Regions from separate parts of the Homo sapiens genome. Here regions 1, 3 and 4 are each linked to region 2. Evidence: promoter capture Hi-C in 16 types of primary human blood cells and fetal thymus (Javierre and others, 2016). All regions are on one chromosome and are shown on one strand. Each heading gives the region's core, a stretch centred on a gene start or on the middle of the fragment in contact. The rest is flanking DNA. Distances are from core to core; before and after follow the strand shown.

Region 1 (5,047 bases), core at 1,897-4,396, 290 kb after region 2:
ACTTGGACAAATTGTATCCTTTCAAAGTGATGTCTCCATGTTCCAGTTGCAAATCCAAGGTATTGAGACTCAACTGGGCGTCTTTTGGAAGGAGTGAAATATTTACCAGGGGAATTTTCACCTCTTCCTGGGCTCTCCTTGTTGAGTTAACATCATGTCTCTTAAACTTCGGGAAGCGTTTTTCTTTGGGAATATCCTCAAAAAGGATTTCCGCCTCTGGAAGAAGTGTTATGGGACTAACTAAATTTTCGTAACCCTTCTGGGCTGTAGAATTCAGTTTTGGTCCCTCCCTTGTGTCCACCTCCACTGTTATCTGCATTTTGAACTCTTCATCGTTTGTATTTTGAAACGTGAGATTAAAATGTATTGTGGTGGCATTCATTCCACTGTGCATTATGAGGTGGATGGTTTTCCACTTGTTGGCAATAGAAGCATGTCGAATTATTGGATTGTCACTATAGGCACCTTCAACTCCTCTTTTGGCTACTTCTGCAAAGCTGAAATAAGGCAGGCATTCACCTTTTGGAATAATATAGTGAGTCTGGTTTGGGAGAAGGATCACTTTATACAATTCATGAAAATGATCTAGAGGAAAAAACAGAAACATGATTTTTTTTTTAACTGGGCATTTTTCCTCTGTTTTCCTTTAATTCTTTGAGTCTGAGTTTTCACTTTCTTTTAAAAAAAATAATAGGGAATGCATCATGAATTTGCATGTCGTCCTTGTGCAGGGGCCATGCTAATGCCTAAACTGTTCTAATTTTAGTATATGTGCTGCTGAAGTAGGCACTGAGTTTTCACTTTCTAAGAGTGACTTTAATTTCAAAATAATCAGATATCCTAATACAACAGTTACTGGTATAGGGCTTATTTCACTATCTGAGGCAGTCACAATAATTACCATGAAATAGTGATCCTGACTCACTATAGAGATATGGCATGGTTCTTAACAATAAATTACAATAATCAATTTCCATCTTTTTATCCATTTGAAAAAAACTTTCTGCCAAAACAAACTCCATTAATACGCTATCAACAAAATCCAGTGTTTGAACCATCTTTATTTAATGAATTATTGATATCCTTTTTTGTTTCCAAATTAAAACTTCACCACATATTTTCAGCTAAGGTAAATCTGCTTGGTCCAAACAAAACAAAACAAAACAAAACACCAGACTGCAACAATAACAGGAAAAGATCCTCTTCAGTGATTTATGTTGTTCTCTTACTTTCATAACTAGTTTGAATGCAAGGCTGGTAAAGGGATACACAGAGAATCATTATTTTAAATAACAAAAGCCATTCAAAACTCTCTCTACCTGTCAAGGATGTTTTATGCTCCCATTCTTATTTGTTTGGCAGTAAACATACCTTGCCCACAGTCGCCAGCATCAAACCCACAGGACAAGACATTGCATGCTTGGTCACAGAACTTATCAGCGAGCCAGGAATTCGCACATCCCTGATTACAGTAAGAGACACTGTTTATTCCTCCACCAAACTGCCAGGGCTGTCCAACTCCAATACTCCCAGTACCTCCACCTCCTGCAATATAGCGACTCCCTCCACTGTTTCCTGTAGATCGGAGGAAGAAGAGGGATTCTTGCTGTAATTACAATTTTGAAAGACAGTTCTGGACTGGGTGTGGTGGCTGACGCCTGTAATCTCAACACTTTGGGAGGCAGAGGAGGCTGGATCACCTGAGGTCAGGAGTTTGAGACCAGCCTGGCCAACATGGTAAAACCCCATCTCTGCTAAAAACACAAAAATTAGCTGGGCGTGGTGGTGGGCGCCTGTAATCCCAACTACTTGGGAGGCTGAGGCAGGAGAATTGCTTGAACCCGGGAGGCGGAGGTTGCACTGAGCCAAGATTACACCACTGCACTCCAGCCTGGGCAACAAGAGTGAAACTCCGTCTCAAAAAACAAAAAACGAAAAAGACAGTTCCTTATTTCATATTGATGTTTTCAAGGTTGATGTGTAAGTTTTAGTCAGAAAAGGTTCACCTCATTCTTTAGTAGAAGATCTCATATACCTTAAGAAGAAAATAAACGTAAAAGGGAGTCACTTGACAGAAGCGTGATGAACAGGCCCTGGCATTTTGTAGCTGTGCAACCTACAAGTACAGGGCTTACATTTGCTCAAGGGGCACGTGCTGACAGAAATGGAGGAGCACGAAAACAAGAAGAGATTATTCCAAAGACTGTGACTATCAGAACTGCCAAAAACATGTCCAAACGTGGGTAACATGTTTGATACCCCTTGTTATCAAATGCTAATGTTCCAGTAGAGACTGACTTCTCTGGTCTACACAGATCTACTTTGCACATCTGTATTCTCTCTCCTCAGCTAAAGCGCATCTGACATATCTGACTGAAATACAACTTGAAGCTTTGTTTTCTCCAATATTCAAACATTTCCAAATCCATTTCTTCATATGGAAATGGGGATGATAACATTTGTGTACATACTTACTCTCTCTCTCTCTCAGGTAACAAACACAATTCAAGTGAATATAATGAATAATGCTCTATAAATTTAATGCTTTATAAATTGAAAGGTAGTAAGTAAATGTAACAAATTGCTATTATCAACAAGTCAAAATATAACTATGTGAGGGAGAGGGAAGAGCTGCTGAGGAGAGAAAATACTTATTTCTTTTGCAACTCTTTAGTAATTCTGTGACCTATCACAATCTGCTGCTGAAAGCTACCAGCAGTGAGCTCCTATAAGAACCAGTTAGAGTGATTCTTGCTCTTGGATTTATATAAGTGTATTCCAGATTTTCATATTTTAAATAAGAAGACATTTTCAAGTGTATTTTCTCTTGTTCAATGCCCTCAACAATGAATAAACTGGGCCACATGAGGGCACTAATTACCACCTCCAAAGAGTCCATTGATTACTGATTTGTTTGTTTTGAGAGAGGCTGTCACTCTGCCGCCCAGGTTAGAGTACAATGGTGCAATCACAGCTCACAGCAGCCTCTAACTCCTAGGCTCAAATGATCCTCTTGCCTTAGCCTCCCAAGTAGCTAGGACTACAGGTTTGCACCACCACACTTGGCTAATTTTTTTTGATAGAGATGGGGTCTTACTATGTTGCCCAAGCTGGTCTTGAACTCCTGGCCTCAAGCACTCCTCCCAGCTCAGCTTTGCAAAGCACTGGATTATAAGCATGAGCCACCATGCCCAGCATTACTGATTCTTTATTAATACATAAAGAATGTTTGGTTAAGTCTATAGCACATGTTCAATAATGATTAAGAAGAAAATATTCCATAAAAATGAACGAATTACAGTTTAACACATCCTTACCAGAGCAATCCCCACCATCCCAATCGCAGGCTGAATTATTACAAGCCTTGTCACAATAGCCATCCTTAATCCAGGAACCTGGGCAGCCCTCGGCACAGTTTGGCACAGGCCATGTCAAATAAACCTACGATAAAACCAAAGAGAAAATAAAATGACTTCTGGCTTCTGATACATTTTATTCTTGAGTTAAGATTCCCTTTATAAAAAGAAATTAAGTCTCTAGAAAGATTAAAATTTTCAAAGGGCTCAGCGTTCACACTCACAAGTGCTTTAAGTTTGCCTGTACCTACAGTCATTGTTTAGATCCTGCTGCGTTGACCGTTCTTACTGAGCGTATTTACTTTTTTTCCATTACTCAAGGAAAGCAGACAAGGATTCAACTCATGGATTAGTCTCTCATAACATGCTTTGATAATCTACTATGAAATAAAGTAGCACCATGCCAGACTTGACTGCAAGTACCAAAGCATGTCAAAGCTGGTGGGAAGTATGCACAGTCACTGCTTTTCTGTAACTATCAGTAGCTCATTAGTGTATTTGTGCATAATCTTGTCTCAAGGCTGAGAGACAATATCCTCTCTCTTCAAGCTTAAGGCCCTGTGATAAATTAACTGGCATAGCATTCTGAGCTGTGCATTCACCTGCTCTCAGAATTAGTGATGGGGTACATGGTTTTTCAAATTTAAAATCATTGAAAAAAAATACACTCCTCTTTAAAAATCTCTGTGCCTTTGCATATTCTAATTGGAATGTCTTTTTTAACCTAAACTAATTCTTACTTGTTCTTCTCAGTACATGTCAATTCAGATGGGCTTTCTTCCCTATCCTATCTGATTTAAGCCTCCTTTGCTCACACTCCTCAGCACCAAGGCACACCTGTCAGCAGGAAAAGCACCACACAGTCATTGATCTTGTTTGTCCCCTTGTTAAGCCACAAGCTCAACTTTGAGCCCTACAGTCTGATACAGAGGAGACAACTCAATAGGGGAACAGGAGAATGGGCCTGGTTGGGTAGCATAAACAATTACAGACAAAGTAGTTTTGTGTTATTAGCACTTACAGTTGCAGAGTTTTATAACTTCTAAGTTTACGGTGATAAGTCTCTAACTTATCACTGAACCCTTCTAACAACGCTACAAGGGTATTTGTACTTTCCTCACTATGCCAGAAAACACAGAGGTAGAGCCACTGCCCAAGGTCATCCTGAAGAGTTGGCCCCTAAGTCTGTACTCTTAACCACTTCTCCATCCCACCTCTCACAAAGTTAGAGTGCAACAGGCTACCTTAAATGAAATTACATCTATAGCTTTAAGCACTAACTTGAGTTAACTTTCTATTTTGGCCATTTTGCTGATATTCTAACCATGATTGTCTGTTTCACAGTGATTTTGCTTTTTCTGCTATCGTAGTAGAAAATTGAGATGGTTGGGAAAAAGTGTGGGTCCTGGGTGTCTAAGAATGCAGGAAAGCAAATTTCTAACTGTAGTGTTCTTACTTCTTAATTGCTGATTTCTGAGCTTAGCACTCAAAAATGATTATTTGATCTCATATATCTATATATATTTTTTTATTTTTCAAGATCCGGTTCTCACTCTGTCACCCAAGCTGGGGTGCAGTGGCACAATCACAGCTCACTGCAGCCTCAACATTCAGGCTAAAGCAATCTTCCCATCTTGGCCAGTGACCCCCTACTCCCCCCACGGCCCCCCAACACCCAAGCAGCTGGGACT
Region 2 (6,326 bases), core at 3,726-6,225:
ACTCCTCCTACTCAAATGTGAGGAATTGTTTTTCTTTTTCCTTTTTTTTTTTGAGATGGAGTTTCGCTCTTTGTTTTGCTTTTTGTTTTTGTTTTTTGAAACGGAGTCTCGCTCTTGTAGCCCAGGCTGGAGTGCAATGGCGTGATCTAGGCTCACCGCAACCTCCACCTCCTGGGTTCAAGCAATTCTCCTGCCTCAGCCTCCTGAGTAGCTGGGATTACAGGCACCCGCCACCACGCCCTACCAATTTTGTATTTTTAGTAGAGACGGGGTTTCTCCATGTTGGTCAGGCTGGTCTCGAACTCCCGCCTTGGCCTCCCAAAGTGCTGGGATTGATTACAGGCATGAGCCAGCGTGCCCAGGCTTCCTTTCTTTTTTTAAAAAAATAATTGAGATGGGGGTCTCACTATGTTGACCAGGCTGGTCTTGAACTCCTGGCCTCAAGCGATCCTCTCACTTTAGCCACCCAAAGTAATGAGATTATAGGTGTGAGCCACCGCACCCAGCCAAACATGAGGAGTTTTCTAGCACCTTCTCCCCAGTCTGCTAACAATCTTTATTATTTGCTTATTGGAGTTTCCAAAGATCTTGCCAAGATTAAGACCAAATTCTTTAGTCACTTCAACAACTGAATTATTGAAGAAGAATTTGTGAGGAATGATAAGAGCTTGAACTTGATCTCCCTTTTTGGGTTCTGCAGTTCCCTATTCTCAGAAAACACAGTCTTCCACCTGAAGCGTGTCACCATATGATTTGTACGCCAGCACATGTGTTGCTTAAGATTTTCTAAAATAATCTCCATTGCCACTGAGGACAATGAACTTCTGCAAAAGTGAATCTGTCAATCAGGGATCCTCTCTTCAGAGCCCTTAGCTTGTTACTCAGCTCATTTCTGGAGTTGAGGGAAACATTGGTGTCCATATATTAAATAAATACTGCAGGGGCTCCCAAATTGGAGTTCACTGGCCCTACTGGGAGGGTTTGCCTGAAAATGTGTGCTGATGGCATTTTCCTGGGAAAATAACTGCCAGCTTTCATCAGATTCTCAAGAGATAGGAGTTTTGACTTCTAAAATGCTAAAAGTCTATTGCATTAACTTTTCAAGATGCCAAAACAACTTCACATCTTAGCCCTACAGAGAACCCTAAAGCTGCATTTCTGTTTTTGCATCTGTAACGTAGGGTTGTATATATATACATATATCTCCAACAGGCCGTATGCAGTGTCTCACACCTGTATTCCCAGTACTTTGGGAGGCCGAGGCAGGAGGATGGCTTAAGCCCAGGAGTTCGAGACCAACCTGGGCAACATGGTGAGACCCCATCTCTACAAAAAATGTAAAAATTAGCTCGGCATGGTGGTGCCTGCCTGCAGTCCCAGCTACTTGGGAGGTTGAGGCAGGAGGATCACTTGAGCCTAAGAGGTTGAGGCTTTAGTGAGCTATGATTGCACCACTGCACTCCAGCCTGAGTGACAGAGTGAGACCCTACCTCAAAAAAAAAAAAAAAAAAAAAATCAACACACTCATTGACTTCACTAAGGAAGTTCTAGGCAGCAACCCTAGCTTCCACTCAACACTTTTGCCAGGTTCATTTATTAATATCCTGCATAATCAAACTCTAGAGACAATAGTTGGGGAAATGCTAGCTTAGAAAGTTTACTTGTTGGCCGGTCACGGTGAATCATGCCTGTAATCGTAGCACTTTAGGAGGCCGAGGCTGGAAGATCACTTGAGCTAAGTAAGGAGTTTGAGATCAGCCTGGCCAACATGGTGAAACCCCATCTCTACTAAAAATAGAAAAATTAGCCAGGCATGGTGGCAGGCGCCTGTAATCACAGCTACTTGGGAGGCTGAGGCATGAGAATTGCTTAAACCCAGGAGGTGGAGGTTGCATTAAGCTGATATGGTGCCACTGCACTCCAGCCTGGGCGATAGAGCAAGGCTCACTCTCAAAAAAAAAAAAAAAAAAAATCACTTTTTTATGGCCATAACACCTTGAACAGGCCTGACCTCTTCCGATTTTAGACACCAAGGCGTGTAGGGCCAGTTTAGTACTTGGATGAGATCCCACCTAGAAATATCAGGGTTTTAATTTATTTACATTAAAAAAAAAATAGTCCAGGCGTGGTGGTTCATGCCTGTAATCCCAGCAATTTGGGAGGCCGAGGCAGGCATATCACCTGAGGTCACGAGTTTGAGACCAGCCTGGCCAACATGGTGAAACCCCATCTCTACTAAAAATGCAAAAATTAACCCTGTGCGATGGCGTGGGCCTGTAATCCCAGCTACTCAGGAGGCTGAGGCAGGAGAATCACTTGAACCCGGCAGGCAGAGGTTGCAGTGAGCCGAGATCACGTCACTGAACTCCAGCCTGGGTGACAGAGACTCCATCTTGGAAATAAAAATAAAAATTAAAAATTAAAAAAAAAGAAAGTTCAGGCTGGGTGTAGTGGCTCAGGCCTGTAATCCCAGCACTTTGGGAGGCCAAGGCGGGTGGATCACCTGAGGTCAGGAGTTCAAGACCAGCCTGGCCAACATGGTGAAACCCCATCTCTACTAAAAATACAAAAATTAACCAGCCTGAGTAGCTGGGATTACAGCCTGGCCAATATGGTGAAACCCCGTCTCTACTAAAAATACAAAAATTAGCTGGATGTGGTGGTGGCCTGTAATCCCAGTTACTCGGCAGGCTGAGGCAGGAGAATCGCTTGAACCCAGGAGGTGGAAGTTGCAGTGAGCCAAGATCATGCGATTGCACTCCAGCCTAGGGGACTGAGGGAGACTCTGTCTCAAAAAAAAAAAAAAGTTCACTGTGTTTACATTCATTTCAAATACTCACCACACCTGTAGTATTAATATGTGACAAGCATGGGCTGGGTGCTGTGGAGTTTGCCGTTGGGACTGAGCACCTGGTCGAAGGCAGCCTCAACTGCACACACAGGTCTCCAGGGCTGAGAGCGTGCACATGAAGTGGAATTAACCCAAATTTGGATCTGGCCCAGCCCACCTCACTAGAAGTTGAACCTTAGGGAAAATCACAAAACATCTTTGAACTTCAGTTTAGATTCCTCATCTGTGACATGGGGGTACACAGATAACGACTGCCATACATGACTTGTGATTATTTTAGGGCTTGATGTGTATGTTGATCTGGATCCTGCCTCTTTCTTCTCCAACTTTGCCTCTTAGCCCCCAGGTGCATTTTCCTGCAGCCTCCTCTCCTCCTCCCGCTTTTTTTCTGTGTCTTGAATGCCAAACTCATTTCCATCCCAGGCTCTTTGCACCTGCTGCTTCCTCTGCCAGGAGGTGCTCCTCCAAATATTTGCATCTCTGCTTTTTGTTTTGCTCACTCCTTCATTTTTCTGAGGCAGGGTGGGGAGGCACTCCATTTTTCTTGGGGGTTTCACTGTGCTGTCCAGGCTGGTCTCAAACTCCTGGCCTCAAGCCATCCTCCTGTGTAGCTGCTTAGCGGGGATATAGGCACCAGACACCCTGCCCGCCTGCTCACTCTTAAGTCTTCTTCTTGGGTTTCAGCTCACACCGCTTTCCTCCTCAGAGATTTTTCCTGGCTATTCGCACACTGTCTTCATAATCTTTCTCTTTTGTATTGTTGTTTTTGACACTTCTTATCTAATACTTTACCAATGTGTTTATTTTTTAAAAATCATTTCTTCTCATAAGGATTTGTTCAGGGCTGTAGCTCCTGGACATGGGGCAGTGCCCAGAAGAGTGAAGAGCTCAGTAATATGTTGAACGAATGAACCAAATAAGGTGGCTTGAAAAGGGTGTAGACTAGTACAGATTAAAAACAAATCAACATTAGTGATTACCGTTTTATACCTGTTATTATAAGATCTGCATATCAGAAGAAGGACTGTGTGTTAACATTTGCATAACAAATTGGCTCAAAAAAGTAATTGGTCCAAAACAATAGTCCCCTATCAAAGGTGAGGTTAGGCTCCAACAATGCAAAACTGAAGTTACTGGCAGCTTTGAAATCACAGACCCTCTTCACTCTCCCCACCCACAAGGTTTACAAAAAATTCTTAGGCGGTTTTCCCCCTGGCCAAAATGTGACAGCTATTAAAATGGCAGGTTTCAGGTTAGCCAAGTGAGAGGCAGACATGTGTTTCAGGGGACAGGAAGGTTATTTCCACCGTGTACAAGTGGATGCTGCTTTGGACACTGATGGACAGGTAACATAAAATGGGCGAATCTGCAGGGGGATGAACTGGGAGGAAAGTATTTTAGGTGGAGGGAGCGTCTCATAATTTCCAACAGAGCCACCCCAAATAAACCTTGAAGCCAAGTAAGAGAACGGGACCTGCATTAGGAATGCAGCAGCCTCAGGTATGTCCAACCACATGGCCCCCCATAAGGTTTTCCTAACCATTTTGGAGCCGCTACTGAATTTAGGTGTGGAGGAAAGCAAGAGCATGGATTCTATTATCCCCACTCAACTGAGTGGCAAGATATAAGGCTAAGGCTCAAGAGCCTTGAATGTCAGGACAAGGGCCCTAAGCCTTTAAGCTCTCTAAGGCGATCAGTGAATGGCAGTGTAAGTAAAGTAGTTTAGGAGGAAAGACCGATTTGGAGAGTCCAGAGTGAAGGCTGTTGACAGTCCAGGCAAGAAAGAGAGTATAGAGTCCAGAATTGGGAGAGAAGTAATATGAATTAAAAAAAGAAGGGTGGGCCTGAGTTGCCTGGGTTAGAAGTTTCCGGTGGGGCTATGCAATCTGAAGAGCTGCAACCTAAGTTGGGCGGGGGATTCATGGGGCTTGTTCTAATGCTTTTTTGCTTTTTGGCTGATGGGATGCAAACTACTATGTGCCTCTTCAAAATAATAGCCCCTGGTGTCTACTAATCATATCATGAAATAGAAATTGTGAAGGCACTGTATCTTTTAAAAAAAATCCCCTTTTGAAGAACTTCCTTAAAAACAGCTATTTAATGCAACTCTGCCAGTATGTTCTTGATGGTTATGTCTTAACAATTCTAATTTTTAAAAAAAATATTACTATTTTTTTTCATCAGAGCCATTGCACTGGAAAATAATTTTTTATTTTCATGATAGCCTACCGTTGAATTTACCGTTCTGATATTAATGAAACATCTCTATAAAGGGTTGAAGTGTCTTCCCGGTAAGTTCTCAGCTTATGTTTTTCTAAATATCTTCTAATCACTGTTCATTTTTTCCTTTGGCCTAATGAGTGTTTCTCACTGTCTGCGTGTTCAGATGCAAGAAATATTAAGCAATCATAGTAATCAATAATGTTTTCAAGCTTTTTCTTCCTTTTAGATTTGCTACTTGTAATAGCTGCGATAGTCTTGTGGAGCATTTTAGTCAAAGAGAACATGTTCATTTTTAAATATTTAATTCAAAATACAACATTCAGTGCTTCTGCACTTTTGAGTCAAAGCAGTTAATTGAAAATCACTGACATGGCTTTTAAAAAATATGTGCTACTGATAATATTCACTAAAGACCATGAGCCGAAGAGTGATTTCTGGATTTTCTTCTATTTTCTTTTAACTGACATGATGTAATGATTTCAAAGAGCCAAGCAGAATTTTGATATTTAATATGTTATGTTGATATATGATGGATATATATAATATTGGCATTAGATTACATCATCTCATTTTATTATTCAAAGTTAAACACTAAAGAGTAAACACATTGTGTTTGCGGGTAAATACTAAGAAGATAAATACTTGCATAAAAAGAACTGCTGGGTTTACTTAATGGAATGATAAGCAATTTTGGACCCACCACAGTTCTTTTTATTATGTGGGTTGGTTTTTGTTTGTTTGTTCCCTGTGTTGGTCTATAGAACGTAGAGTTAAAAGCATTTAATTGTGGGTCGGTGTGATAATTGTTTCTCTAAAGCAAAATCAGAATTACTTAGAGATAAGAAAGTAAATAACAAAATTATAGACGAGTTTTCTTAGCCTAGGATTCAAGCAAGTCCAAGGATAGTCTTCACAGGCTAAATTTTATTTGCAATATAAGTCCAATTTTCATGGGAGGAAAAGGATGGCTTTTGCCAGATTCTCAGAAGGCAATATAACACCAAAGAAAGGTTTTTTAAAAAAGCCCTATTTTTATAAAGCTATGCTAAGGTAAAAAGGATTTTGATTTTCAGAATTTTAGAATATTTAAAATAATTTTGAAATACTTATATATACTTTTGAGTTATTTCCACTTTCTCTTATCAATCAAGCAGCTCAGATAATTAAATATATAGCTATTTTAATATTTAAAGCATTTTGTAATCATGGAAAAGCAAAAAGAAATGTTTGTAGAAAATTTCGTAGAAAAAAA
Region 3 (6,661 bases), core at 1,735-4,234, 370 kb after region 2:
CTGATGTCCTCCCATACTGGTACCCTAACCCACCATGTGGCAGGAAGAAGAAAACACAAAAACCAAACAATGAAATCTAGAAAAGAAGAGTGGCCCAGTGGCTCATGCCAGTAGTCCCAGAACCTTGGAACACCAAGGCAGGAGGATTGCTTGAGGTCATGAGTTCAAGACCAGCCTGGGAAACATATTGAGATCCCCATCTCTACAAAAACTTTTTAAAGAAAGAAATTAGCCAGGCATTGTGGCCCGTGCCTGTAGTACCAGCTACTCAGTACTCAGGAGGCTGAGGCAGGAGAGTTTCCTGAGCCCAAGAGTTTGAGGCTGCAGTGAGCTGTGATTGTACCACTGCTCTCCAGCCTGGGTGACAGAGCAAGATCCTGTGGAAAAAAAAAACAAACAAACAAACAATAACAACAACAAAACAAACAAACAAAAAACCCAGGAACAATGCCTCATGCCTGTAATCCCAGCACACTTTGGGAGGCCAAGGTGGGAGGATCACTTGAGCCCAGGAGTTTGAGATCAGCCTGGGCAGCATAGTGAGACCCTGTCTCTAAAAAAATAAATAAATAAAAAATAAATGGGCACACCATGGGGTAGCCCTGCTCCACAAAGAGCAGTAAAAAAATTTTATGCCAAATAAATAAATATTTTTAAAAGGACGGAGGAAGGGAGGGGAGCAAATATGGAAAGAGTTGGGGCGGGGGGTGATGCCACCTTCTTCCTGCAACATTCCTTCATCGCCCTCTACTGGCAAAGCTTCACATCACACTCACTGCAAAAGAAACGCTTCAAAAGAAGTCCAATTCATTAATACACAGCAAGTTCTGAAGGAGTGAATTTGGAACTGAGAGGCAACAATTGATTATTGGCATATCCTTGAAGCCAGGGTTCTAGGTGTGGTTGAAGTTCTCCTAATCAGGTGAATTCACAGAAGATTTCAACCTGGAAGTAAGCTACATGGAGAGAGAGAGGCAGTGCAAAGGGCGCCTGTTTTGGCTGGAGTGAGTGAGTCAAGGCAGGTGTGGTGCAGTTGGAAGCAGCTTCCTGCCTCTGTAGAAAGCATCCTGATCCTGCTCTTTCTGATCCCGGCAGCGTCAGTAGCTCCCTTGACAGCTTAGTTCAGTGGAGTATTAGGACCTGATCTTACAAATTCAACCTAGTAGTCTCTATCTAGAATACTGTCATAGGTAAAGGCTCTTTGTTCAGACCTCCTGAGGGCTTATGGGTAGGCCAACTTAATCCCTTTCTGTTTAAATCAGTGAATAGATTCCTTAATCTACAAATAATTACCCTGACCAAAATAAGGTAAGAGAACATAGCTTGTATAATAGTAAAACTCCTTGGAATTCATTGACTCTTCCTTCGTTGCCTAGCACATTGTCCATTTTTGTAAAGTTTCAGGTTTGCTCAAAAAGAAAATATTCTCACCAATGGCTTTGGCTCATGCCTGTAATCCCAGTGCTTTGGGAGGCCAAGGTTGGAGGGTCGCTTGAGCCCAGGAGTTTAAGACTGGCCTGGGCACATCGTGAGACCCATCTCTATGAAAAGAAAAAAAATTAGCCGCGTGCAGTGGCTCACGCCTGTAATCCCAGCACTTTGGGAGGCCAAGGCGGGTGGATCACCTGAGATCAGGAGTTCAAGACGGACCAGCCTGGCCAACATGGCGAAACCTCGTCTCTACTAAAAATAAAAAAATTAGCCAGGCCTGGTGGCGCATGCCTGTAATCCGAGCTACTCAGGAGGCTGAGGCTTGAGAATCGCTTGAACCCGGGAGGGGGAGGTTGCAGTGAGTCGAGATTGTGCCATTGTACTCTAGCCTGGGTGATAAGAGTGAGACTCCATCTCAAAAAAAAAAAAAATTAAATTAGCTAGGTGTGGTGGTACAGACTTGTAGTTCTAGCTACTTGGGAGGCTGAGGAGGGAGGATCACTTGAGCTGAGAAGTTTGAGGTTACAATGAGTTGTGATAGCACCACTGCACTCCATCCTGGGCAAAAGAGTAAGACAAAAGAAAAGAAAAGAAGGAAAGGAGGAAGAAAGGAAGGAAGGGAGAGAGAGGGGGAAAGAAAGAAAAAGAAAGAAAGAAAGAAAAGAAAGAAAGAAGAAAGAAAGAAAGAAAAAGAAAAAGAGAGAGCGAGAGAGAGAGAAAGAAAGAAAGAGAGAGAGAAAGAAACAAAGAGGCTGGGCTCAGTGTTTCACGCCTATAATCCCAGCACTTTGGGAGGCCAAGGTGGGCGGATCACGAGGTCAGGAGATGGAGACCATCCTGGCTAACATGGTGAAACCCCGTCTCTACTAAAAATACAAAAAATTAGCCGGGTGTGGTGGCAGGCGCCTGTAGTCCCAGCTACTCGGGAGGCTGAGGCAGGAGAATGGCGTGAACCCCAGGAGGCAGAGCTTGCAGTGAGCCGAGATCAGGCCACTGCACTCCAGCCTGGGCAACAGAGTGAGACTTTGTCTCAAAAAAAAAGAAAGAAAGAGAGAAAGAAAGAAAGAAAGAAAATTCCCTCTGTGTATTTTTCTGTCTGTCTTGTCTCTCCTGTCTCCCCCTTAGTTCCTAATTTCTTCCCTGTTTAAGTTCTCACAAACCTCAGGATCAATATGAAGTCCACTGTGATGTACTTTGCAGAATCTACCTATTTGCAAAAGCTAACTCCTACCCTCATCTTTGTACCTGGTGTTTGAAAACTGGATCAATTTTCTGATCTCCAAGCATTTGGAACTTTCTTTAGTTTTCATCTCCTTAAAACCAAAGCTTCCAACCCCACCGGAAACAAACAAACAAGCAAACAAAACACCCAAAGCAGTGAGCACTCAATATATATATTTGATTATCCATAAATGCTGATTCTCTAATTCATTGCAATGTCAAGTTCATAATTAAATAGGGAGACTTTTGCATTTTGCATAGTCTGCTTTCCAGAATACTGTCAGGGATACTCTGATATTTTGCTATAATGCTTTGGCAGTGCTCTAGATGTATTAAACTCACTGTAACCAATCCCAGGAGCACAGTAAAAGTCCAAGTGATGCCAACCAACAAGGAAATTTCAGAGTTAATTTATCCAAAGTATAAATATCACAGTGAAAGAGTAATAACTGGTGCTTCTGACATTTTAGGCTAAAGGAACGAATAAATGAATGTGGCAAGAACCCCTAGATTATACCAAAAGAAGGGTGAATAATTATTAGGGTTAGTGTGAATAGAGAGAAGCTTATGAAAAGGAAAAAGATTTTCTGTTGTCTTTTCTTCTGTCATCAAGTTCGAACCAGCTGCAGGTTTATCTCAATTGCTCTGCTATGAGGTGCACGTAAAACAAAAAGATTCTAAAAGCTACATTATAAGTCCCTTCCAATGTGGACAGCCCTATTCCTTTCCAAGGCCTATATATTCTTTGGATTCTTAGTTTAAAGCAGCAACATTAAAATTGTAAATGAGATAAGGCAGGACTGGTTTTACCATTTTCACATCTTACATCATATTAACCTAGATTCAAAGTAAAGTCATTCTTGTTGGATTTATTTTCGTGTCACACAATATGCAGATTCACCACTAATTAATTTTGAGAATTCTCCTCTAGAAACGTGCTTTTTTATTAAGATAAATTTCTCTCAAATAAGGTTAAATAAACAAAAAATCATGGGTCAAAGCCTCATTGTCTGCTGAGCAATCATGTATATTGCTTTAATTATTCTTCCTCAATTTCCTTGAAAATTCTCTATTTAACTTTATTGAGATTATAATTAAGATCCTATAAAATTAGGCCAGGCGCGGTGGCTCATGCCTGTAATCCCAGCACTTTGGGAGGCCAAGGCGGGTGGATCACAAAGTCATGAGTTTGAGACCTAGGCCAACATGGTGAAACCCCATCTCTGTAAAAAAAAATACAAAAAATTAGCCAGGCATTGTGGCGTGGGCCTGTAATTCCAGCTTCTCAGAAGGCTGAGGCAGGAGAATAGCTTAAACCCAAGAGGCAGAGTTTGCAGTGAGCCAAGATCGTGCCACCGTACTCCAGCCTGGGCTACAGAGCAAGACTTTGTCTCAAAAAACAAACAAAGAAACACACACACACACACACATATACACACACAAAACAAGATTCTATAAAATTGACCCATTAGCTGGGTACAGTAACTCACATCTGTAATCCCAGTATTTTGGGAGGCCAAGGAGAGAGGATCATTTGAGCTCAGGAGTTCCAGACTAGCCTGGGCAACATAGTGAGACCCATTTCTACAAAAAAAAAATTTTTTTTAATTAGCTAGGCATGTTGGCACACACCTGTAGTCCCAGCTACTTGGGAGGCTGAGGTGGGAGGATTGCTTAAGCCCAGCAGGTCGAGGCTGCAGTGAGCTGTGATCATGACACTAGATTGTAATCCAGCCTGGGCAACAGAGTGAGACCCTGTCTCAAAATAAATAAAATAAAATAAACTCATTATAGGTGAACAGTGCCACTATATGTGCATGCCATTTGTGTGCTTTCTTTGCTGAAAAGTCTTCTTCAAACCCTCTGCCCACTTTTTAAATTTGGTTAACCTTCAACAACCTGGCATCTACTCCTGCTTCTATTAAAACTAACGTCTGAAATAATGAAATGCAGTGGATATAGTGAATCCTAACTAACAAGTCCAGTAGTATATTTTGGTTTATCTTCTCCTTGACCCTCCTGCAGTATTGGATGTCTTCAATAATCTTTTCTTGAAATGTTGTCTTACTTTGGTGTCCAGGACAGAATACGTTTCTGATTTTTCTGGAAGATCTTTGATGACTTCCTTTTCTGGGTTGTAGTCTACCTCCTGCCGTTTCTAGGTGGTGGTTCAGTTCACATAGACTAGACCTCTGCCCTCTGCTTTACTTCTACATTTTATTTCATGGCAACTATAATGTCTTCAAGAAAATTTCTAGATTAGCCAGGTGTGGTGGTGGGTGCTTGTAGTCCCAGCTACTCAGGAGGCTGAGGCATGAGAATCTACTGAACCTGGGAGGCACAGGCTGGAGTGAGCCAAGATTGCGCCACTGCACTCCAGCCTGGGGGACACAGTGAGACTCCATCTCTAAAAAAAAAAAAAAGAAGGAGGGAAAAAAAGAAATTTTATAGAAGGCAGTGAGATATCTGATGATGTCATCAAGAAACTGGTGTTATGTAAGCATGGTGAGAGCTGGAGCCGTGGGAAGGAAACTAAATGACAGGCCCTACCATAGTGGAGGGATGCAGCACTGTGAGAAGGGATGCAGCTAGGCAGGAGAGAAACACCCCTTTGATCTCTTCCTGGTGCCTCCCATTGGTTGAAACCAGAGGTTAGGAGAGTCTGTGTAAAACCGTCCATGTGGTCAGCAAAGGGTATGGGAATGAATCTGGGAGCAAATGAAAACTAGCCAATACATTCGGGGTCTAAAGCAAACATCTCACCATCTCACCGTGTTTTTTTTTTTTTGAGTCAGAGTCTTTCTCTGTCATCCAGGCTGGAGTTCAGTGGTGTGATCTCGGCTCACTGCAGCCTCCTGCCTCCCAGGTTGAAGCAATTCTCCTGCCTCAGCAACCCGAGTAGCTGGGATTACAGGCACACACCACCACACCCGACTAATTTTTGTATTTTTAGTAGAGATGGGGTTTCATCATGTTGGCTAGGCTGGTCTTGAACTCCTGACTGCAAGTGATCTGCCTGCCTCGGCCTCCCAGTGTTGGGATTATAGGCGTGAGCCACCACGTCCGGCCCTCACCATCTTTTGTGCCTAAATCATCTCCCTGTTTTAACTTCTGTGCCTCCATCAATGGCACCATTACTCTCCCAGCCTCTTAAGCTGGAACCTCAGAAATCACTCCAACTCCCTTCATGGATTTTTTTTTTTCCTGTTAGTAAATTCTTATCCCTTATTTGGCATTACCCATCTCATAGGATTGGACTGTTGAATCCTCTATAAATGTGAGACTTCACAATTTCATGGTACTTAACATCACGGTTTAATTAAAATCCTCATGTGTGTACTTATCTCTTGAATGAGCATTTTCAGGGCAGGGTCTGTGCTTCATACTTCAAATCCTCATTGTGCCCCTCAGCATTCTGTCAGGGTAGGGACTCAGCAACGCTTGTAAAATAAATAAATGAATGATCTGTTCACGGTGGACATGGGCCTACAACTTGCCTGAATTCCTTGTCCAAATGACAGAATATGGCAACAGAGTCAACACATTTCACTAGTAAGTGGCAGCATCCACAATGATAACTTCCAAAGATGTTCAACACCAGCAAGCACATCACTGCGACTTCAGTAACCATAGTAACAAGACTACAATAAGATCATAACCAGCTAGTCAGACTAATCTCTTTCTAGTGGAAATGACCAGTGAATTACTTTCTGTGTGGACTGGGTTACTCTAAAGAAGATTCTTTCTTTCTTGCTTGCTTTCTCTCTCTCTCTCTCTTTCTTTCTTTTCAGGATCTCACTCTGTCACTCGGGCTGGAGTGCAGTGGTGTAATCATAGCTCACTGCAGCCTTGAGGTCTGGGCTCAAGTGATCCTCCCACCTCAGCCTCCTGAGTAGCTGGGATGACAGGCAAGCACAACCATGCCCAGCTAATTAAATTTATTTATTTTTTTTGAGAGATGGGATCTCAGTATGTTGCCCAGGCTGGTCTCAAATCCTGGCCTCAAGTG
Region 4 (5,917 bases), core at 3,418-5,917, 320 kb after region 2:
TTCTTGTGCCTTGCTCCCCCGCAAGCCTGCACCCTCCCCAGCCTCACCTCTGCTTTTCCTTTTTTTTTTCACAGCACTTACTACTTTTGTAACATATTAAATAATTAACTTGTAACCTATTCCGTTAATTATGTGTGGCCCTCTCCTAGAATGTAAGCTCCAAGAAAGCAGAAAACTTTCATGCTTTGTTCTCTAAAGTATCTGTGCAATGAGAAGAGTGCCTGGCACACAGGTGACCAATAAGTATATGCTGACATATGAGACACTAGTACAGAAGACCTTCCTGAACTTGCACCATTTCTTCCTGATCATCTTGTCCTCATAATAAAGAGTCAGGCAGGCTTTTAATTCTTGAGTATGTTGTTTAAGCCTCACCTTAGTGATTTTACCCAGATTTTATCCCTGCCAAAAGCACTCTTCCCTTTTCTCTCACTACCAAAAACCTACCCATCTTTCAGGGGCCTGCCCAGATGCATGCCACTTTGACTTATGACACAGGAGTTCATGTGTACATCTGGGTACTGATACTACTTTAGATCAGCAGTGTCCAATCTTTTGGCTTCCCTGGGCCACAGTGGGAGAAGAATTGTCTTGGGCCACACATAAAATACACTAACACTAAAGATAGTTGATGAGCCAAAAAAAAAAAAATAATAAACCACGCAAAAAAAAAAAAAATCTCATCATGTTTTAAGGAAGTTTACAAATTTGTGTTGGGCCGCATTCAAAGCCGTCCTTGGCCACATACGGCCCACAGGTTGGGCAAATTTTCTTTAGATAGTGCTATTTCAAGTTTAGTACTTTCCAAGAAACTGTATGGGTTTTGCAGTTTTATTTTTAGGCCAAGGACCAAAGCATACCCTCCTTTTGTCCTCCTCACAGCCCAGGCACAGCCTAGACTTTCAGTTGCTACCATATTATCTCGTGGGAAAATAAATGCTATTTGGTAGCTAAATCTTTTGAATTATGGAAAGAAAAAAATTAACAGAAATGAAACAACCTTTAGCTTACAAGAAGTAGGGGAGATAACTGGATGAGTTTCTCCATTCACTGAATAATTCTTATTGAGCGCTTAATATGTGCTAGGTACTGTTCTAGGTGCTAGGGTTTCAGCAGTAAATAAAACAAAGCCCAAATCTGTGCCTTCACGGAGCTTACATTCCAGAAGGGAGAAGACAGGAAGTAAATCAAATAAATAAAGTCAGATGATGTTAAATGTTGTGGAGAAAGTAAAGCAGCAAATGGGGATAGAAAGAGTGTCTATGGGGAGGCGGGGCGGTCAGTTTTAAATAGGGAGATCAGAGATGGCCTCAGTAAGAAGGTGACATTTCAGCAAAGATATGAAGGAAGTGAGGAAGCCAGCCAGGTGGGTAACTGAGAGAAGAATGTGCCAGAGAAAGGGAACACCAAAGGCAAATGCCCTGAGGCAGGCGCCTATCTTGCTTGTTCAAGGACCCAGAGGCGAGTTCCCTGAGCAGAGGGGAGAGAGGAAATGGAAGAGAATAGTTGAGATGAAGGTCAAAGAGATAACAGAGTTCCAGAGCTTCATCTGGAAAATAAGGAATCACCTTATTCTCTGGCATATGTGATAGCTGAGTACTTACCAAATGTCTTGTCAAGTTTCACCACTGCCTGCAGAATAAGGTCTAAAGTCTTTCATAATCTGCACCTTATGTTCTGGATGATCCAATTGTATACCCTTGTCCAAAGATGAAACGAACTTGCAGGACTTTGTACCTTTGAATATGCTTTTCCTTCTGCCTAGAACATTCTTTCTTTCATGCTTCCTTTAACCACCTCCTCCTTCCTCAATTCCCTCCCTTCCCTCACCTCTCACAAAGAGAATCTATAGCTTCATATGCAGCTTCCACACTACTTTGAACTGTAAGGAATCCTGATTGTACTGTGCTGTGCTATTTTCCATGCAGCCCTATCTTCCACTAGATGGAGTATCTCTAGGGCAGAAATGTTATCATGCATTCTGTGCCCTGCTTCATTAATTATTTCCTCTCTTTCCTACACCTTCGGGCTCTCTCTCCCTACTGTAATGATTTGCAAAGGTTTCCCTATCTAGGGTTTTTCTGAATTTATCAATAAATAAATTCTAATGTTTGTAGAATTTCCTTTTCTCACAAGCTCTCAGGTAATGCTGATGTTGCTGGTCCAGAAATTGCACTTTGGGAACCACTGATTTATATGTAGGTTACACACTTCGCTTTTTTTCCCCACTAAAATGCCAATTCTATATAAGGCCAATGAGTTCATTTTGTTCACCACTATATACCTAGGGCCTAGAATAGTTCCTCCTACATGGGTGGGGTTTAATACATATTTATTGCCTAACTATTAGTTCATTCCTTTATCATATATATCAGTCTTTCTCATTTAAAAAAAAATCCATCTGCCTCACACTGCCCACATGTAAATTATCCAAGGTCATCTCATTCCCAACCTCCCAGGTGATTTATGCTCAGTCTAAAAATAAATTTTAAAAAACTGCTTCAGTGATGTGTTTTTAAAAGAAAAGGTTAAAGGAGAGGAGAATTACATCTTAAGCTTTCCTGTAACTAAATATTTCCTGCTACTAAATATTTTTAATATATCATTTATATTATATTATTTAGCTGATTAAAACATAATATACTGCATGTATTACATGATCAATTTAACTTTGGCAAAACTGACAAATGGAAGGAGACTGTGTGATCTGCACGAGGTCAATGAGTCAGTTGTTTTCCTATTAGACATGGTCACACTCTGAATCTTTCATTCTAACCACTAGACCACTATCTTGGTTCACAGATGAGAAGGAATGCATTATCTTGGAGCTGAAAACTAAGACTAAGTCACTCATAACTCAGAACCAAAGCAGCAATGACACTGACATAACTTTCATTTTAATCACTGTTTAGTTTAAGTGAATATTAAAGCCACTTAACAGTCCCTTGGTTCTACATTCTATAAAGTAGGTGAGAAAACAGAGAACTTAAATAGTATTTTGTCTTACTTATTTATTTATTTATTTATTTACTTATTTAGAGATAGAGTCTTGCTCTGTCGCCCAGGCTGGAGTGCAGTGGTGCCATCTCAGCTCACTGCAACCTATGCCTCCCAGGTTCAACCAATTCTCCCTGCCTCAGCCTCCCAAGTAGCTGGGATTATAGGCAACCACCACCGCCCTGGCTAATTTTTGTATTTTTGGTAGAGACGGGGTTTCACTATGTTGGCCAGGCTGGTCTTGAACTCCTGACCTCATGTGATGTGCCCACCTTGGCCTCCCAAAATGCTAGGATTACAGGCGTGAGCCACCGTGCCTGGCCTTCAATAGTATTTTAGAACCAAAGAGTTGGAAGAGATTGTAGTCTTAATCTAATACAATAGCTCTTAATCTAATATCCACATTTTACAGATGACAAAATTGAGCCTCGGATTGACTTAATGCCTCACAATTAGTAGCAGTGAATAGTTTATATATTCACTTTTACTGACATATGGAATGGGATTTTTTTCATTCAGAGCAAACAACCTTAAAAAGATTTATACTGGCCAGGTATGGTGGCTCACACCTGTAATCTTAACACTTTGGGAGGCTGAGGTAAGAGGATCGCTTGAAGTCAGGAGTTCGAGACCAGCCTGGGCAATACAGCAAGACCCCATCTCTATTAAAATAAATAAATTTTAAAAATAAAAAATCTGTACAGAAACTAGCAAAATAATGAAAATATATCAATGTTATGGTATCTTAAAATATATTAGACCATGTGAAATGTTATATATGATCCATTTATTTGTCATCATCAAAATGAGGAAATTTTGAATATATGCCTACATAAAAATCAAACTATATTTTAATGCAACCTTCTAAACTTCTTTAGAAAGAGAACAAGAGTGTTTGATTAAAACTGCTGACCTCAAAATCTGCATTTTCTAATAAGCTAGTTTTCTTTCTAAAAGTTTAAAGCAGCTGGGCATGGTGACTCATCCCTTTAATCTCAGCACTTTGGGAGGTCAAGATGGGAGGATTGCTTGAGTCCAGGAGTTTGAGACCAGCCTGGGCAACACAGTAAGACCTCATCTCTAAAAATAAATAATTAATTAATTTTTAAAATCAATTTAAAAATTTTTAAAAACGTTTGAAGCTTCTTCGGGGCAGGGATCTATGCATCTGTGCACCATCTGCACGTGGCACAGCATAAGGCACAAATCAATAAATATCTGATTTTAAAATGTTAATCAATTTAGAACTTTCCTTAGGGAAATTAACTTGTTAAAGTGAAAATTATATTTCATTAAAAATCCTTTAATGCAGTAGTTTTCACAGTGGGGGCACCAGACCAGCAACTTTGGTATTACCAGGAAGTTTGGTAGAAGTGCAAATTCTCAGAACCCCTCTGAAACCTATACGCAGAAACTCTGGGCTGGGAAGTAACTGTTATTTTCTTAAGCCCTCCACTGCAAGCTAAAGTTTCAGAACTGCTATATTAAGGAATGGTCCTCAAACTTTTACTGTTTGGTCCCTTAAAATTAAAAAATTAGTATGGACCCCAAAGTGCTTTAGTTTATAAGGTTATAATTATCCACATTTGCCATATTTGAAAATAAAACTGAAACATTTTAAAAATACTTAATTCATTTTAAAATGAGAATAGGCCGAGAGCGGTGATTCATGCCTGTAACCTCAGCACTTTGGAAGGCCGAGGCGGGTGGATCACCTGAGGTCAGGAGTTTGAGACCAGCCTGGACAACATGACGAAATTCCGTCTCTACTAAAAATACAAAAATTAGCTGTGCGTGGTGGTGCATGCCTGTAATCCCAGCTACTTGGGAGGCTGAGGCAGGAGAATCGCTTGAATCCAGGAGGCAGAGGTTGCAGTGAGCCGAAATCGTGCCACTGCGCTCCAGCCTGGGCAAGAGTGCAACTCTGTCTCCAAAAAAAAATAAAAATAAAAATAAAATAAAATAAAATAAACACCTTTTATAATGAAATTACTACATTTTCTAAAATAAACCAAAAAAATAGTGAGAAGACAGAAACAAAAACCAGAAAGGACTTGTGTGATTCATTTTATCTGCAAAAAGGGAAGGAGGGTGTTGAAAAAAATTGTTTCCATTCTGAGGTCTGTCTTGTGAAGAGGAAAAAAAAAATCCCCAAAGACAAGAAATGGTGAAGACTGCGTTCCAGAATGGCGGCACTAAGAAGCTTGGCCTTCCAAGGGAAAGACCCACACTAATGAGGTATGAGGCTATTTGCTCCTCCCTCATAGGTAAGCAGCAAGAGTGACCAATGGAGTGGGGTTCAGCCCCAGTGGTTTACTGGGGAGTGGTCCCATTTCACAGGACGCTGTCAACAGAATTCCGGCCAGGGCTCAGAAACCGCTGTGTAGTAGCCACCTGGTTTCCTCATCCTACAGGGGGATGAAATTCCCTTTACCTCACAGACCTGGGGAGACAGAAAATGCAATCATGCAATTTAAGGTACCCAATAAACTACAAGGTGGGATTACTCTCTGTGAATCAGATTTTTCACCCACAAAATGTGGTGAACACACTTTTCTTCAGATGGACATATTTTCTTTCCTTATTTTAAAAAAATATCTTACGGAATACTTCATGAATTGGTGTGTCACCCTTGCACAGGGGCCACACTAATCTTCTCTGTATCGTTCCAGTTTTTTTTTCCTTTTTTTTAGTATATGTGCTGCTAAAGTGAACACATCAGATGGGCATACTCCTGAGTAAATTAAACCATATCTATAACTCAGAAAGACCCCTTAAACTGTCATATTTACAGGATGGCTATTTCATGACTTACGATTTAGGTCCAAATAATAGATTTCTCCAAAATAGATCTTACCGATTCTGAAAGGACTTTCCAGCAATATTGTCTCTATAGGAATCAAACAAAACATGGTATTGA

What was found. Contacts are between HindIII fragments. The CHiCAGO score rates a contact against its expected background, and 5 or more counts as called.
Region 1: a fragment that was not itself captured here is called in contact with the fragment with the promoter of SPIC in region 2 in 3 of 17 cell types (naive B cells, M0 macrophages and M1 macrophages); the score reaches 7.5 in naive B cells.
Region 3: a fragment that was not itself captured here is called in contact with the fragment with the promoter of SPIC in region 2 in 3 of 17 cell types (total B cells, monocytes and naive B cells); the score reaches 7.0 in total B cells.
Region 4: a contact is called between a fragment that was not itself captured here and the fragment with the promoter of SPIC in region 2, in 2 of 17 cell types (M0 macrophages and M1 macrophages). The highest score is 5.7, in M0 macrophages.

Annotation. Positions count from the first base shown.
Region 1 is chr12:101,764,720-101,769,766 of GRCh38, forward strand. GNPTAB (N-acetylglucosamine-1-phosphate transferase subunits alpha and beta) reads right to left here. Exons shown (of 21, transcript NM_024312.5): 11 at 3,318-3,441; 12 at 1,372-1,575; 13 at 1-585. It also overlaps the pseudogene RNU6-101P. Among named protein-coding and RNA genes, the nearest start is that of SYCP3, 28 kb to the left of the region's middle. RefSeq lists an enhancer at 2,782-2,951 and a cis regulatory region at 2,867. The HindIII fragment of the contact is 1,514 bases long and covers 2,390-3,903 here.
Region 2 is chr12:101,470,361-101,476,686 of GRCh38, forward strand. It overlaps SPIC (Spi-C transcription factor), which reads left to right and starts at 4,976. Exons shown (of 6, transcript NM_152323.3): 1 at 4,976-5,142. It also overlaps the pseudogene RNA5SP367. RefSeq lists an enhancer at 3,621-4,316. The HindIII fragment of the contact is 10,024 bases long and covers 1-5,281 here.
Region 3 is chr12:101,839,202-101,845,862 of GRCh38, forward strand. No RefSeq gene overlaps it. Among named protein-coding and RNA genes, the nearest start is that of GNPTAB, 12 kb to the left of the region's middle. The HindIII fragment of the contact is 459 bases long and covers 2,756-3,214 here.
Region 4 is chr12:101,790,823-101,796,739 of GRCh38, forward strand. GNPTAB (N-acetylglucosamine-1-phosphate transferase subunits alpha and beta) reads right to left here. Exons shown (of 21, transcript NM_024312.5): 2 at 5,855-5,917. It also overlaps the pseudogene RNU6-172P. Among named protein-coding and RNA genes, the nearest start is that of GNPTAB, 37 kb to the right of the region's middle. The HindIII fragment of the contact is 1,061 bases long and covers 4,138-5,198 here.